Linked DNA regions of Homo sapiens: region 1 is linked to region 2. Evidence: promoter capture Hi-C in human tissues and cell types (Jung and others, 2019). All regions are on one chromosome and are shown on one strand. The core of a region is centred on a gene start or on the middle of the fragment in contact, and the rest is flanking DNA. Distances in the headings are between cores, read along the strand shown. Region 1 overlaps ACAA2 (acetyl-CoA acyltransferase 2). Region 2 holds the start of MYO5B (myosin VB).

Region 1 (6,924 bases), core at 2,085-4,584, 390 kb after region 2:
GTCAGATTTCAGTCAACAAGAAGAACCGGCTCCTAGGTTTTTATTAGCACCCATCCCAGTACTTGGCAGGAGGTTTTCGCTCGACAGATCATAGCTCTCCTACTGCTCCTAGCTTTGTTGGGAATGTTTGTGTATTTTTTCAAGGCAAGTAGACAGGGCTGCTAAATTACCTTAATCTTGAAACAACTGGATGCCACCGCAGCTTTCCTTAATTTGCCCTCGTTGCTGCCTGAAGTTGCTCTAAGTGAATATTTACCTAACAATGTGATAGAAAGGTAGTGCTCCTGTTTCTTTCCTAGTGGTGCTTTTCCTGTATTGTCAACTCAGCACATCTTTCCAGGGCCTTTCTTGGAGCTACTTGGACTCACTACACTCTGGGTTAATAGGTCTCTTCACTGTCTTTCAGTTTTGGGAAATTTTTAGCCTCTGAATTTTCAGGGTGTTCAAATGAGATTTCAGTTTGGTGTTAAAGATTGTTAAGTTTTAGACCTTTTAGTATCCACGTAAAATTGACATCAAATGAAAATTGACATGGTATACAATTTATGAAATTAAAAAAAAAAAACTTTAAACCTTTATAGTCTATCTGCACATCCCAGATTATTTGTTAAAATGAAGATTTAAAATAATAATAACAAATTATTTTTTAAAATAGAGAAACCCAGTCTCTACAAAAAATACAAAAATTAGCCAAGCATGGTGGCACTCGCCTGTAGTCCCAGCTACTCGGGAGGCTGTGGTGGAGGATTGCTTGAGCCCAGGAGGTTGAGGCTGCAGTGAGCCAAGATCACACTACCGCACTTCAGCCTGGGTGACAGAGTGAAACCCTGCCTCCAAACAAACAAACAAAAAAAACCCAAACCAAAAATATATGATTGAGAACATTTTCTCTGTTCAAAATAATTGTTTTAGTTCAGTTAAGGTCTTACTTGAGCTAACCTTTACAGTCTGGGAGCATCAAATAAGAAGTAATATAGGTAAAGGGGAGGTTTTTTTTTGTTTTTATTTTCCCATGCACACCCTTTCCTTTGTAGATATTGCATATTTCACTACTAGCACTGCCCTATCAAATGCTTTCTTAGAATATGAGACATAGGGGAGAAGTTCATAAAAGGAACTTTGTAGAGAGACAAATGAAATTAGGCTCTATTGTTTCTGAGAAGTGAGGGGTCATTTCCATGTGTGCAATATGTCATTTTTATTTCTGGATGCTTTATATATTTTTGTTATCTTTGGATTTCAAAAGTTTGACAATGATGTGCCAAGCTGCAGGAGAACGGGGTGTGGAGTGTTACGTGTGGTGTTTATTAGAGTTGAGGTTTACCAAGCTTTAATATACAAATTTATGTTTTTTATCAAATTTGGAAATTTCTTCTTTATTATTTCTGCAAATGTTTTTTTAAATCCATTCTCTGTCCTCTCCTATGACTGTAACTTGTTAGTCCTTGAGGTTCTGCCCGTGTTTTTTTACTATCCGACTTTAAAGAAAAAATTTACAAACTTTGTTTTTGAGCAGATTTAGGTTTTACAAAAAAATTGAGCAGAAAGTACGGAGTATTACCATGTGCTCCCTTGCCCGGTCCGTTTCCCCTATTATTAACATTTTGCATTAGTGTGGTACATTTGTTACAATTGATGAGCTAACATTGATATATTATTATTCACTGAAGTTCATATTTTGCATTCAAGTTCATTCATTGTATTGTATAGTTCTATGGGTTTTGACAAATGTGCAAATGACCGATGTCAGTATTATAGTGTCATGCAGATTAATTTCACCACCCTAAACATCATCTGTGATTCACTTATTTATCCCTGTCTCTGAACCCCTGGCAAGCACTGATCTTTTTACTGTCTCCATAGCTTTGCCTTTTCCAGATATCATGTAGTTGGAATCATACAGTATATGGCCTTTCCAGACTGGCTTCTTTCACTTAGCGACATGCATTTAAGATTCCTTCCTTTTATGGCTTGATAGCTCACTTCTTTTTATTGCTGAATAATATTCCATTGTATGGCTGCACCACAGTTTGTTTATCCATTCACCTGTTGAAGGACATTGTTGTGGGAAGTCAGGGACCCTGAATGGAGGGACCGGCTAGAGCTGTGGCAGAGGAACATAAATTGTGAAGATTTCATGGACATTTATCACTTCCCTAATAATACTCTTAACGCCTGTCTTACTTTAATCTCTTAATCCCGTTATCTTCGTAAGCTGAGGATGTACGTCACCTCAGGTCCACTGTGATGATTGTGTTAACTGTACAAATTGATTGTAAAACGTGTGTTTGAGCAATATGAAATCAGTGCACCTTGAACAGAATAACAGCGATTTTTAGGGAACAAGGGAAGATAACCATAAGGTCTTTACTGCCTGCGGGGTCGGGCAGTAGGAGCCATATTTTTCTTCTTGCAGAGAGCCTATAAACGGATATGCAAGTAGGAGAGATATCACTAAATTCTTTTCCTAGCAAGGAATGTTAAGACCCTAGGAAAAGAATTGTATTCCTGGGGGGAGGTCTATAAATGGCCGCTCTGGGAGTGTCTGTCTTATGCGGTTGAGATAAGGACTGAAATACCCCCTGGTCTCCTGCAGTACCCTCAGGCTTATTAGGGTGGGGAAAAAACGCTTCTTGGTAAATTTGAGGTCAGACCAGTTCTCTGCTATTGAACACTGTTTTCTGTTGTTTAAGATGTTTATCAAGACAATATGTGCACAGCTGAACATAGGCCCTTATCAGGAGTTTTTGATTTTGCCCTTTGCCTTGTGATCTTTGCTTTGTCCTTTGCCTTGTGATCTTTATTGGCCTCAGAAGCATGTGATCTTTGTTCTCCTTTTTGCCCTTTGAAGCATATGATCTTTGTGACCTACTCCCTGTTCGTACACCTGCTCCCCTTTTGAAATCCTTAATAAAAACCTGCTGGTTTTGTGGTTCAGGTGGGCATCCTGGACCTACCGATATGTGATGTCACCCCCGGCGGCCCAGCTGTAAAATTCCTCTCTTTGTACTCTTTCTGTTTCTCAGACCGGCCGACACTTAAGGAAAATAGAACCTACACTGAAATATTGGGGGGCGGGTTCCCATGATAGGACATCGTGGTTGCCTTCAAGTTTTAACAATTAGGAATAAACATTTGTTTGCAGGTTTTTGTTTGAACATAAGTTTTCAAATCATTTAGGTAAATACAAGGAACCTGATTGCTGTATCATACATATGGTTAGGTGTGTTTAGTTTTATAAGAAACTGCCAAAGTGTCTTCCAAGCTGGCCATACCATTTGCATTCCCACCAGCAGTGAATGAATTTCTGTTGTTCCACATCCTCACCAGTGTTTGGTGTTGTCAGTGTTTGGGATTTTAGCCTTTCTAAAATCCAAAAGACTAATAGTTGTGTAGTAGTATCTCATTGTTTTAATTTGCAATTCCCTAATGACATACAATGTTGAGCATCTTTTCATATGCTTATTTGCCATCTGTATATCTTCTTTAGTAAGGTATCTGTTCAGATCTTTTGCCCATTTTTAAATTGGGTTGCATGGGTTTTTTTTTTTTTTTTTAATTGCTGAGCTGTAAGAACACTTTGTATGTTTTGGATACCAGTCCCTTATCAGTTAGGTGTTTTTATAAATATTTTCTCCTAGTCTGTCGCTTGTCTTTTCATTCTCTTAACAGCATCTTTTGCAGAGCAGAGGTTATTTATTCATTTGTTTTTAGAGGGTCCCGCTCTGTCACCCAGGCTGGAGTACAGTGGTGTGAACACGGCCACTGTAGCCTTGACCTCCTGGGCTCTAGCAGTCCCCTTGCCTCAGCCTCCCAAGTGGCTAGGACCACAAGCACACACCACCATGCTTGGCTGATTTCTTAATTTTTTATAGAGACAGGGTCCCATCATGTCTCCCAGGCTGGTCTCAAACTCCTGGGCTCAAGCAGTCCTCCCACCTTGGCCTTCCAAAATGCTGGGATTATAGGCATGAGCCACTGCACACAGCCAGAAGTTTTCTATTTTAATGAAGTCCAACCTAAGTTTTCCCTTCATGGATCCTGCTTTTGGTGTTAGATCTAAAAAATTATCACCAAACCCAAAGCCATGTAGATTTTTCTCGTATGTTCTAAGAGTTTTGCATTTTATATTTAAGTCTATGATCTCTTTGTTTTTGTTTCTGTTTTTTTAGATAAGAGATCTCACTCTGTCACCCAGGCTGGAGTGCAGTGACTTGATTGTAGCCCACGGTAGCCTTGAACTCAGCCTCCTGAATAGCTGGGACTACAGGCACATGCCACTATGCCCAACTAATTTTTTACATTTTTTAGAGATGGGGATCTCGCTATGTTGCCTAGGCTGGTTTCAAACTCCTATCCTGACACAGTCCTCCCACCTCAGCCTCTTGAGTAGCTGAGATTATAGGCTTGAGCCACAGTGCCCAGCCCACTATCAAAGTTGACGCATTTTTGCCTGGATTCATTTTGTTTGGTATATAGATGTTTTGTTGTTCCAGCACTGTTTGTTGGAAAGACGATCCTTTTTCCAGTGAATTGCCTTTCCTCCTTTGTCAGACCTTGAGGTTCTGGCTTTGTTTTTTAATCTTTTTTTTTTCATCTGTTCTTCAGATTGGTTAATTTCTATTTATCTATCTTCAAAGTCGCTGAATTTTTCTCCTTTCATTTCTATTTTGCTGTTAAGCCCATCCAGGGAATTTTTTATTTCAGGTATTTTCCAGTTTTGGAATTTCCATTTTGGATTTTTATAGTATGTATTTCTTTACTGAGATGTCCTATGTTTTATTAGGAGCATATTTTCCTCTACATCCTTGAGCATAGTTGTAATAGAATGCTATTTTAAAATCCTTGTCTGCTAATTTCAGTGTCTGGGTCTTCTTGGGATTGGTCTCTGTTGATTGTCATATTTTTTGTTTCCTCATATGTGGATTAACTTTGAATTATATTATGAATATTGCAGATGGAACATTGTGGAGACTGGATTCTGTTATAATCCTGCAGACAGAACTGACTTATTGATTGGTTGGCTATTTATTTTTTGTAGACAGTTACTTTGCCTACAAAATCACCCCCATGCACCCCCGTGATAAACTATGTCTCCCCTTGTAGTGGGCAGCAGCTTAAATCTAAGTTCAGTTTTTTAAGGCTTGGCTTAGGTGCTTGTGGTCTGACCTACACATGAATGGCTAAGGAGTCAGCCAAATATTTGGGCAGAGTTTATATGTGAAATTTGGAATCTCGCTCTATGGTGCTCCTCTTTCCCAGATTCTCATTCACTTTCTAGTGGCTGTGCTTACCATGAATTTTATTCTCTGATTCTTCAAGCCAGTAAGACTGTTTCTGAGTTCTAGCCATTCCATGCATCATGGACTGTTAGTCTTCAAGTTAGTTGCTATAAATAAATTGGACACTTACCCTGTTCTGTTCCCTTCCTCTAAGTATCAACTCTTCTCCTTACCTGTCTAGTTTTGTTCATTTCCAAGACCGTCAGGTAGTAGTTGTTCTTATATATTGTCTGGAGTTTTTCATTGTTATCTGTTGGAGGGTTGGTCAGATAGGAGCATAGTAGGCCATGACCAGAAGCAGAACTAATGAAATTAGGAAGAAGGCATGGAAAGAGGAAAGAAGAATGAAATAAAGCAACCACTGATAGGCCAGGTGCAGTAGCTCATGCCTATAATCCTAGCAGTTTGGGAGGCCAAGGTGGGAGGATTGCTTGAGCCCAGGAGTTCGAGACCAGCCTGGGAAACATAGCAAGACCCCATCTCTACAAAAAAAAAAAAGAAAAAAAGGTAAAAATTAGCCAGGTGTGGTGGCACATGCCTGTAGTCCTACCTACTTGGGAGGCTGAGGCAGGGGGATCACTTGAGTTGGGAAAGTCGAGGCTGCAGAGGTCGAGGCTGCAGGGAGCTGTGATCACATCACTGCACTCTAGCCTGGGCACAGAGCAAGACTGTCTCAAAAAAAAAAGAAAACACTGATATAAAAATAGGCAGAGACTGTTAAGGAAGGAGGATGAAAGGAAACTTGAAAAGATTCAGGAAGGCATCATGGTACAGAATAACCAATTTACCAGAACAAAACGTTTGTAATGCACTCGACTAGTATTTATGGCCTTTTGTAACTATCTGAATTTGTATCTGTAAAAAACTGAGTGGATCTGTTCTAAATTATAGTTATATATATTGCTCCTAATATTCCTTTAAACTGCAAATTTCTCAAAATAGGAATGAAAAGAGAGGTTGAAATAGAAATATTTTAGGCTAGGCTTGGTTTGTTTGATGAAAGAGATCATAAACTGGAAGATTATACTTAGATACCAGTAGTGGTATAATGCTTGAATAGTCTCATTTGTAGATCAGTATCTTATCACAAACCCATTGCCGAAAGTCCCATAATTTCTTGACAAGATGTGGAAATGTGAGCTTAGATTGTCTTGGAGAGAATAAAGTTAGTATATGCAAAGTGCTAGCATGAAGTCTATTCCATAGTAAGTGTCCCCTCTATGTTAGCTATAATATTTACCTTGCAGAGTTGCTGGGAAGATTAGCTTTTGTGTGGAAAGTGATAAAATGTCTAGTATTTAGTAGACACCTAATGAATGTCAATATGATGAAATGGCTATAACTGATGCTGCTTACTGATATGCCGGTTTTGCACTGTACAGCTCTAATGATGATGAGTGGGTACCACTCACATCATAATCATATATTTGTATAGTCACAAGTTTTTTTTTGGCAGATGGTAGTAGGTGATTGGGAAGGGGTGATTTTTATTTATTTGTACAAGGACACCGATTTAACTAATAGTGATGCTGCAAATTTATAGTCTTAGTTTGTATTAGTAGATGTATAGATAATTCCTCTATTCTTTGTGATTAGATAAAATGCATGCTATTTTTGTTATATTCTTATATTCTAAGGGACA
Region 2 (6,781 bases), core at 3,753-6,252:
GATGAGGACATTATGGACCTCTGGAAATGAGAGAGGACCTGCAGAAGTTCAATGACTGTGCTGGCTGCCTCACAGGATAATGAGTTCTCCATCCGCAGCAGTGTCTAATCAGAGACTGGGTGGTCCCACATTTGGGAAGGTGAGCATTCTTGCACTGGGCATTAGGCTAGATGACCTCCACCCCAAAAACTGTGATTCAGGGTCAGTGAGTCCATGCCCAGTTTTTAGTTCAGGGATAAGTTTGTTTTCTCCCACCCTTTCTTCCATGCAGGTAAAGTTGTCCCCTTTTCATGTTTAGGGAGTTTATATTCCAACTGTGAATATACTTTATGGCTCCTCATCCAGATCCAGAATTCACTTTATTCATTCCCTTGCCCTGGTTTGGGGGGGCCAGACCTCAGGAGAAATCCTGACATAATTTAAGACAAGTTTTCTGGAAGAGACAGAATTTGGAGAGAAAGGAGTCTAACGGATTATGTTATTATTGAAAACATTTGCTGTCCTGTTCTGGTTGCTCCTCCAGTCAGTGCCCTGCCCTGATAATTTCAGAAGCAGCCCTGCATCTTGTTTTGGCCAATGAGATGTGAGTGTATCCCTCTCAGTATTGAAATGTGAGTCAGTCCTCAAGCAGAAGCTTTAGAAGCTGGAACGGGGTTTGCTGCATCTCTTTTCCTTCCACCACAACACAGGGAAGCTTCCAGATGGGAGCCCAAAGGAAAGTCTCTAGAGCAGAGCCGCATCCAACCCACGGTAGGTACGTAATATGAGCAAGAAAGACAGCCTTTGTTTAAGGAACTGAGGTTTTCAGGATAGAGCAGGAAAGGGGGAAGATATGAATCTGTTTGGTAAAGGAGAGGATATAAGAAAATTATTATTATTTTTGGAAACAGAGTCTCACTCTGTTGCCCAGGCTGGAGTACACTGGCACAATCTCAGCTCACTGCCCCCTCCGCCCCCTGGGTTCAAGAGATTCTCCTGCCTCAGCCTCCCAAGTAGCTGGGTCTGCAGGCATGCTAATTTTTGTATTTTTAGTAGAGATGGGGTTTCACCATGTGGGCCAGGCTGGTTGTGAACTCCTGACCTCAAGTGATCCGCCTCAGCCTCCCAAAGTGCTGGGATTACAGGTATGAGCCACTGTGTCCAGCCCATAAGAAAATAATTTTAACTGTCACTGTATAGTTTATAAACCGCTTTCACAGAAGGGCCAGTGAATAAGAAGCCTTCTTCTTAGTGGAATCCCTCCTCTCTTTCTTTGCTTATGCAAATTTTTCTGTTTAGTAATCCCTTTATTTTCTCTTTTCCACTAATTAATGAGCAGTACTTCCTTTAAGACTTGGCTCAAAACATATCTCTATTTACCTACTATTTACTGTGATCAACTTTGTGCAAGTCATGTTCTAGGAAGTGCAGAGGACACAAATATGGATCAGGTGTGGTCCCTGCCCTCAAGACTCTTAGAACCTAGTGGTGAGGAGGAGAAAGGGATATTAGTTCACATATCATACAGGGTGCAAATGAATGCCTTGGAAGTTCACTTTTTATTATTTGTGTGAGGGAAATCCTCACCTGTCAGGAAGGAGACTAAGGCATTTCCAACAGGTATCTTCTTTTTACTTTGAGAAGCCGTGGAGCACAGAGCAATGTTTCTCAAAGTGTGGGCCCTACACCACCTGGGATATGTATTAAATTTGCAGACTCATAGGCCGGGCATGGTGGCTCACGTCTGTCATCCCAGCACTTTGGGGGCCAAGGTGGGCAGATCACCTGAGGTTGATCCATCTCTGCTAAACCCCGTCTCTACTAAAAATACAAAATCAGCCAGGCATGGTGGCGCATGCCTATAATCCCAGTTACTCGGGAGGCTGAGGCAGGAGAATCGCTTGAACCCGGGAGGCGGAGGTTGCGGTGAGCTGAGATGGCACCACTGCACTCCAGCCTGAGCAGCAAGAGCAAAACTCCATCTCAAAAAAAAAAAAAAAAAAAAATTCAGACTCATTGATCATGTCTCTGACCAACTGAATTAACATCCCCTGATAGCCCCTTAATCCTGGTACACACTGAAGTTCAACATCCATTGACATAAAAAGCAAGGGTTAGACGCTCGAGTGAGACTTTAATTGAACAGTAGCTGTCTGACCTAGAGTGTTTTTCACACCCTTCTTCCCTAAGCCTCACTTTGCCCATCTGTGAAACAGCCTTAATATTCTGAACCTCCTTTATAAGGTTGCTCTGAGGCTTCAACAGGATCACAGAAGTAAAGCGCTTGGTATGTTTCCTGGATCAAGTAAGTTTTAAAATGTCTTTATTGTTCAAAGGAGGGAAACACCATATCTGATTGTGGAATTAGAAATTCACAAAGCTCTGGCCAAGTGTAGGACTCAGGAATGCGATTCAGTTCAGTTAACATGAATTGAGCTTTTCATTTGTGCCAGGTGTGATGGAAGCCAGACAGTTGGAACCAGTTACGGGTGGGGAGAAAGGATGGAAACAAATGAATGTCAGGTTGGTCCGAGGTCCAAGTGGCATTGTTACCATTGCCTATCTGCAGGTGGAAAGGTGGATCTTGAGTAAGGTTAGAATTAGATTTGAGAATTAGCATTGTGAGCAAGAGACAAAATGGGGGCGTGGCTGAGAAGAAAGATGAGATCTCTGAAATGGAGCATAGTTTTATTCAGAAACCAGGAAGAGGACGCAGGCCTAGAAAATAATGTTGAGAAGGTTTGGTTAGAGAGGCTGAGAAAACAAGAGAAAAATAGTACTCAGGGAAGAGATGGTTTAACGTAATGGGTTGAATCAATTCCCACCCCATGCTTCACAGTGATGAGGCAATTTCAATAGGATAGGTCTGAGTGGAAGCCAAATAAGAAGAAATTAGAACAGCAACATTTATTTATTTATTTATTTATTTATTTATTATTTTTTAAAGATGGAGTCTTGTTCTGTCACCCAGGCTGGAGTGCAGTGGTGTGGTCTCGGCTCACTGCAACCTCCACCTCCCAGGTTCAAGCGATTCTCCTGCCTCAGCCTTCCAAGTAGCTAGGATTACAGGCATGCGCCACCACGCCCAGCTAATTTTTGTACTTTTAGTAGAGACGGGGTTTCACCATGTTAGCCAGGCTGGTCTTGAACTCCTGACTTCAAGTGATCGGCCCACATTGGCCTCCCGAAGTGCTGGGATTATAGGCATGAGCCACCACACCCGGCCAGAACAGCAGCTCTTAAACTTGGCTGCCATTAGAACCATCTGGGAGCTCTTCAGAATCCTTTCACCCAGGGCAACACCCCCCAGACAAGTTAAATCAGAATTTCTGGGAGTGGGAACCAGACATCCACTTGTTTCAAAAGTGATTCTGATGTGCATAAAGTGTTGAGAATCAGAGAATTAAGGAGGTACTGGGCGTAAGTGGAGATAGCTAAATAAGTGAAGCTACTGCTTTAAGAAGTTTAGCAGGAGAGGAAAACACAAAAAGCCAGGGGCCAGTGGAGAGAGGAAGAGTTGCTGGTAGAGAGATGGGACCACTAATGGTGGTGGAGGAAGAGGCCAGGATCTAGGCAGGACTGATGACTTTCTTATTCAAAAAGGGGAGAATCACCTGGAGGCAGAAAGAACAATGAGTACTGGCCCCACACCAGAGTTTATGGTTCAGTAGGTCTGCAGTGGAGCCCAATAACTTGTATTTCTAACAGTTACCAGGTGATGCTGATGGTGGGCGTGGGGGGTGGGGACACACTTTAAGAGCTACAGGAATCCGGGGAAGGGAAATATGCAGAAAAACTTTTGAGGAAGAGAAAAAAATCCCTTTCTGCTCTTGCCACTGATGTGAAGAGTTCCATTTTTAGGTCCAATGAGAGCCGCCCAAGCTTTGGTCAATGCATTTGTCACCCTGGAAGTACCATCCTTTAGACTTTCAGAGGAGCTTTAAAAATTGGGATACCCAGGTCCCATCCTTCATTATATCAGAATTCCTTGGGTTGGGGCCTCTTCCTTGGAACGCTTAAAGCTCCCCATGTGACTCTCATTGTGGAGGTGCCCATGGGAAGGCCTGCACAGGTGAATTACAACGGGATCTTGAGTTCCAGGTGGGATGCCTCTGAGAATCACCTTCTGGGGCTCTTGAACAACTGCCCCGGCTGGTACAGATATATCTTCCGGTTGAGAACCACTTTTCAGGGGCCACCCCTGGGTCAGGGACAGATGTCAGCTTCAGAAGGGAGTGTCTCCTCTGACAGCCCCTCGTCTCCCTCCACAGACTTCTGGCAGTTTTTTTTTTTTTTTCTTGGTTGAAATTTCTACTTTTCACTGGAAGTAGGAGAGGAGCTGAAGTTGCTGCAGGCAGCCAAGTGCCATGGTCAGAGAGGGAACACAAATAAACGAGGTAGTGAGTGGCAAAAGGACCCGGAGTCTGCATGTAGACGAGACGGGGGTTGGGAGAACGTGAGACTTCCCGGAAAAGCAGAAGCCCTCTGAGATGAGTGGCCTGGAGTCTCCTTGGAGGCTGTGGGCGAAAGTGGACAATATTTGTACAGAAGGAGTTACGACTCCCACTTTACTGACAAGGATTTCCGCGCAGAGAGTTCAGTTTGAAGGAGAAGATCCCTGGTGTATGTATATCCAGGTCGCCTTAATAACGATCTACGAGTAACTGAATTTTAATCATGAAAGCGCTGAATACAGCCAGGTAAAATCGAGGGCAATGTCTGGGGCCTTCCAGCCATAGACGCTTCTCTTTTTTCCCCCCTCTCTGGTTAGTTCCTCTTCCCTTTTCTTGTCTGCACCGCGTTCATGCCGGACTCCGCGGGGCCCGGTGCGGGTGGAAGCGGAGCGCGGCAGGGCAGGTGCGGGCGCCGGGGCGCACCTGTGCCTGCGCGCGCGCGGCGTCCAGCAGGGGGCGGCCCGCGCCGGTCCCGGAGCTCCTCTCTGAGCGCCCCGCCCCCGGCCCGGAGGCCCAGGTGGCAGCGGGGGCGCGGGAGGGCGCGTCGGGCCGGGCACCGGCAGGGCTCAGAGGCGCGGCGGCGCACGGGCCGTCCGCTCTGACGCGAGCGGGTCCTCCCTCCTCGCCGGCCCTCGCCTCCTCCCCACACCTGGGAGGGGAGTGGTGCGGCGCGGCCTCCTCCCCCGGCGCTCGCAACTCCTGTCCGGCCGTAGCTGCGCCGCCGCGGCGGGAGTAAAGGTCGCGCCGCCGGGAGCGAGCCGGCCGCGGCGCCTGCGGGAAGCCGGCGGGGCAGGTCGGAGAAGAGCGAGAAGATCGAGAAACTCCAGGCCAGCCCGGGAACATGGCGCCAGGCGGGCCAGCCGCGGACTGAGAGCCGCGGGGCAGCCAGGAGCCGGGGCCCGAGCCCCGCCCGGCCCGGGCCATGTCGGTGGGCGAGCTCTACAGCCAGGTGAGCGCGGCCGCGAGGGAGGCGCCCCGGGGCCGGGGTGGCGCGCTCGGGGCCACCTAGTACTCAGGGTCGCCTTCTCCCTCGGCTACTGGAGGCGGGAGGTGACGGGAGACCCCCCTCCGCGGTGTCCTCCTCGTCACTGTCCTCGGAGTCCCTAACTTCGGTTGGCGGAGAAAGTTTGGCGGTTCCGGGAACGCCCGCACTGACCGGCCACCCGGCTCCTAGAGGTTCCGCAGCGCCACGGCTCAGCACCAAGCCAGGGCTGTCGCCCCCTCCCCGCCGCGCCCCTCACTTTCGTTGCCTGGGCTCGGCTCCAACCGAGTTCCCCGAACGGCAGGGCGACCCTGCCAGCTCTGAGCGCCGTGCGCGGGACGGGCCCCCGCGGTGCTCCCGCTGCTGTCCCCTGTCCCCGCCGTGGACCCCACCCCAGGGGCTCTGCGGCGCCGGCTCTCGAGGGCGCGCCTCCGAGGCGTCCTTTCCTCCCGCATACCCACAACAGGGAACCCTGGACTTGGGAGAGGTGGGGGTTCTGGACTTGGTGGAGAGGGAGGAGACAACCTGGCGTGAGGGCGCGGCGGCTGGATGGAGTGAGGGTAAGCAATGGGTAGAGGGGTGCGCCGTTATCTCCGGAGACCCCAGGGAAGAGCATTGTGAATTTGCTGGGGATGGATGTTTTGACGCGGCCTCTTTGGTACAAAGAGGGCTTCAGTGACTGCGGGGAGGGGGTTGGAGTAAAGTCGAACCGGGAGCAGGGTGTGAGTTTCAGGATGCCTTCAAGGTCAGAAGGGATGTGTGAGGCTGGGTGCTCCGAATCGGGAACAGGTGCAGCCCGGGCGGAGACGCCCGCGTTCCGCAGCAGTTGCTGTGGTTAAAGTTAGGGACAAGCCACCGCTTCCAGGGGAGCTCGCGGCAGCGCTGCAGCCGCCCGGGACCCCTCGAGTTTCAACCTGGAGTCAGTAGTGAGAGGGGCAAAGGCCTTTTCTTCACATGTGCCCTATGCACCTTTAAGAAAACAAGTTTTGGATAGTCCAATGCCTGGTTTTCCTGTTCGTCTTCTTGGGTGGCCAAAACACGTTTAACAGTGCCTATGCACACGCCTCCATGCAGAGTTGTGTGTGCGTGTGGTGTCCACGCGCGTTGCGTGGGTATGCGATTCCCGGGACACCCGCCCGGGCCAACAGGTCTGGGCTGGGTAGGAACAGTCACTTCCGCGTCCTTACCTGGCGATCACACGCGGCTGTCTAGCCCATGTGGGAGCCCTTCGGCTCCGTGGGCTGGCCACCCTTCTAAGTTTGAGGAATTATTCAACTCTCCCATTCCTCCTGGAGGGGAGCAGGGCCGGGATGAGTTCATGCTCAGGAAGGTGGCCGCGGAGGCTGTCACCTGGCTGGGGGTGGGG

The links. The method cuts DNA at HindIII sites, captures the fragments that hold promoters and counts their contacts. A contact is called where the count stands out against the background at its distance.
Region 1: a contact is called between a fragment that was not itself captured here and the fragment with the promoter of MYO5B in region 2, in 1 of the 25 tissues and cell types used here (bladder).

Annotation. Positions count from the first base shown.
Region 1 is chr18:49,804,616-49,811,539 of GRCh38, reverse strand. All of the region lies in intron 1 of ACAA2 (acetyl-CoA acyltransferase 2), which reads left to right. Among named protein-coding and RNA genes, the nearest start is that of ACAA2, 5.5 kb to the left of the region's middle. The HindIII fragment of the contact is 8,087 bases long and covers 1-6,924 here.
Region 2 is chr18:50,193,368-50,200,148 of GRCh38, reverse strand. MYO5B (myosin VB) reads left to right here and starts at 5,002. Exons shown (of 40, transcript NM_001080467.3): 1 at 5,002-5,382. The coding sequence starts at 5,356. RefSeq lists silencers at 4,788-5,027, 5,088-5,327. The HindIII fragment of the contact is 5,061 bases long and covers 2,279-6,781 here.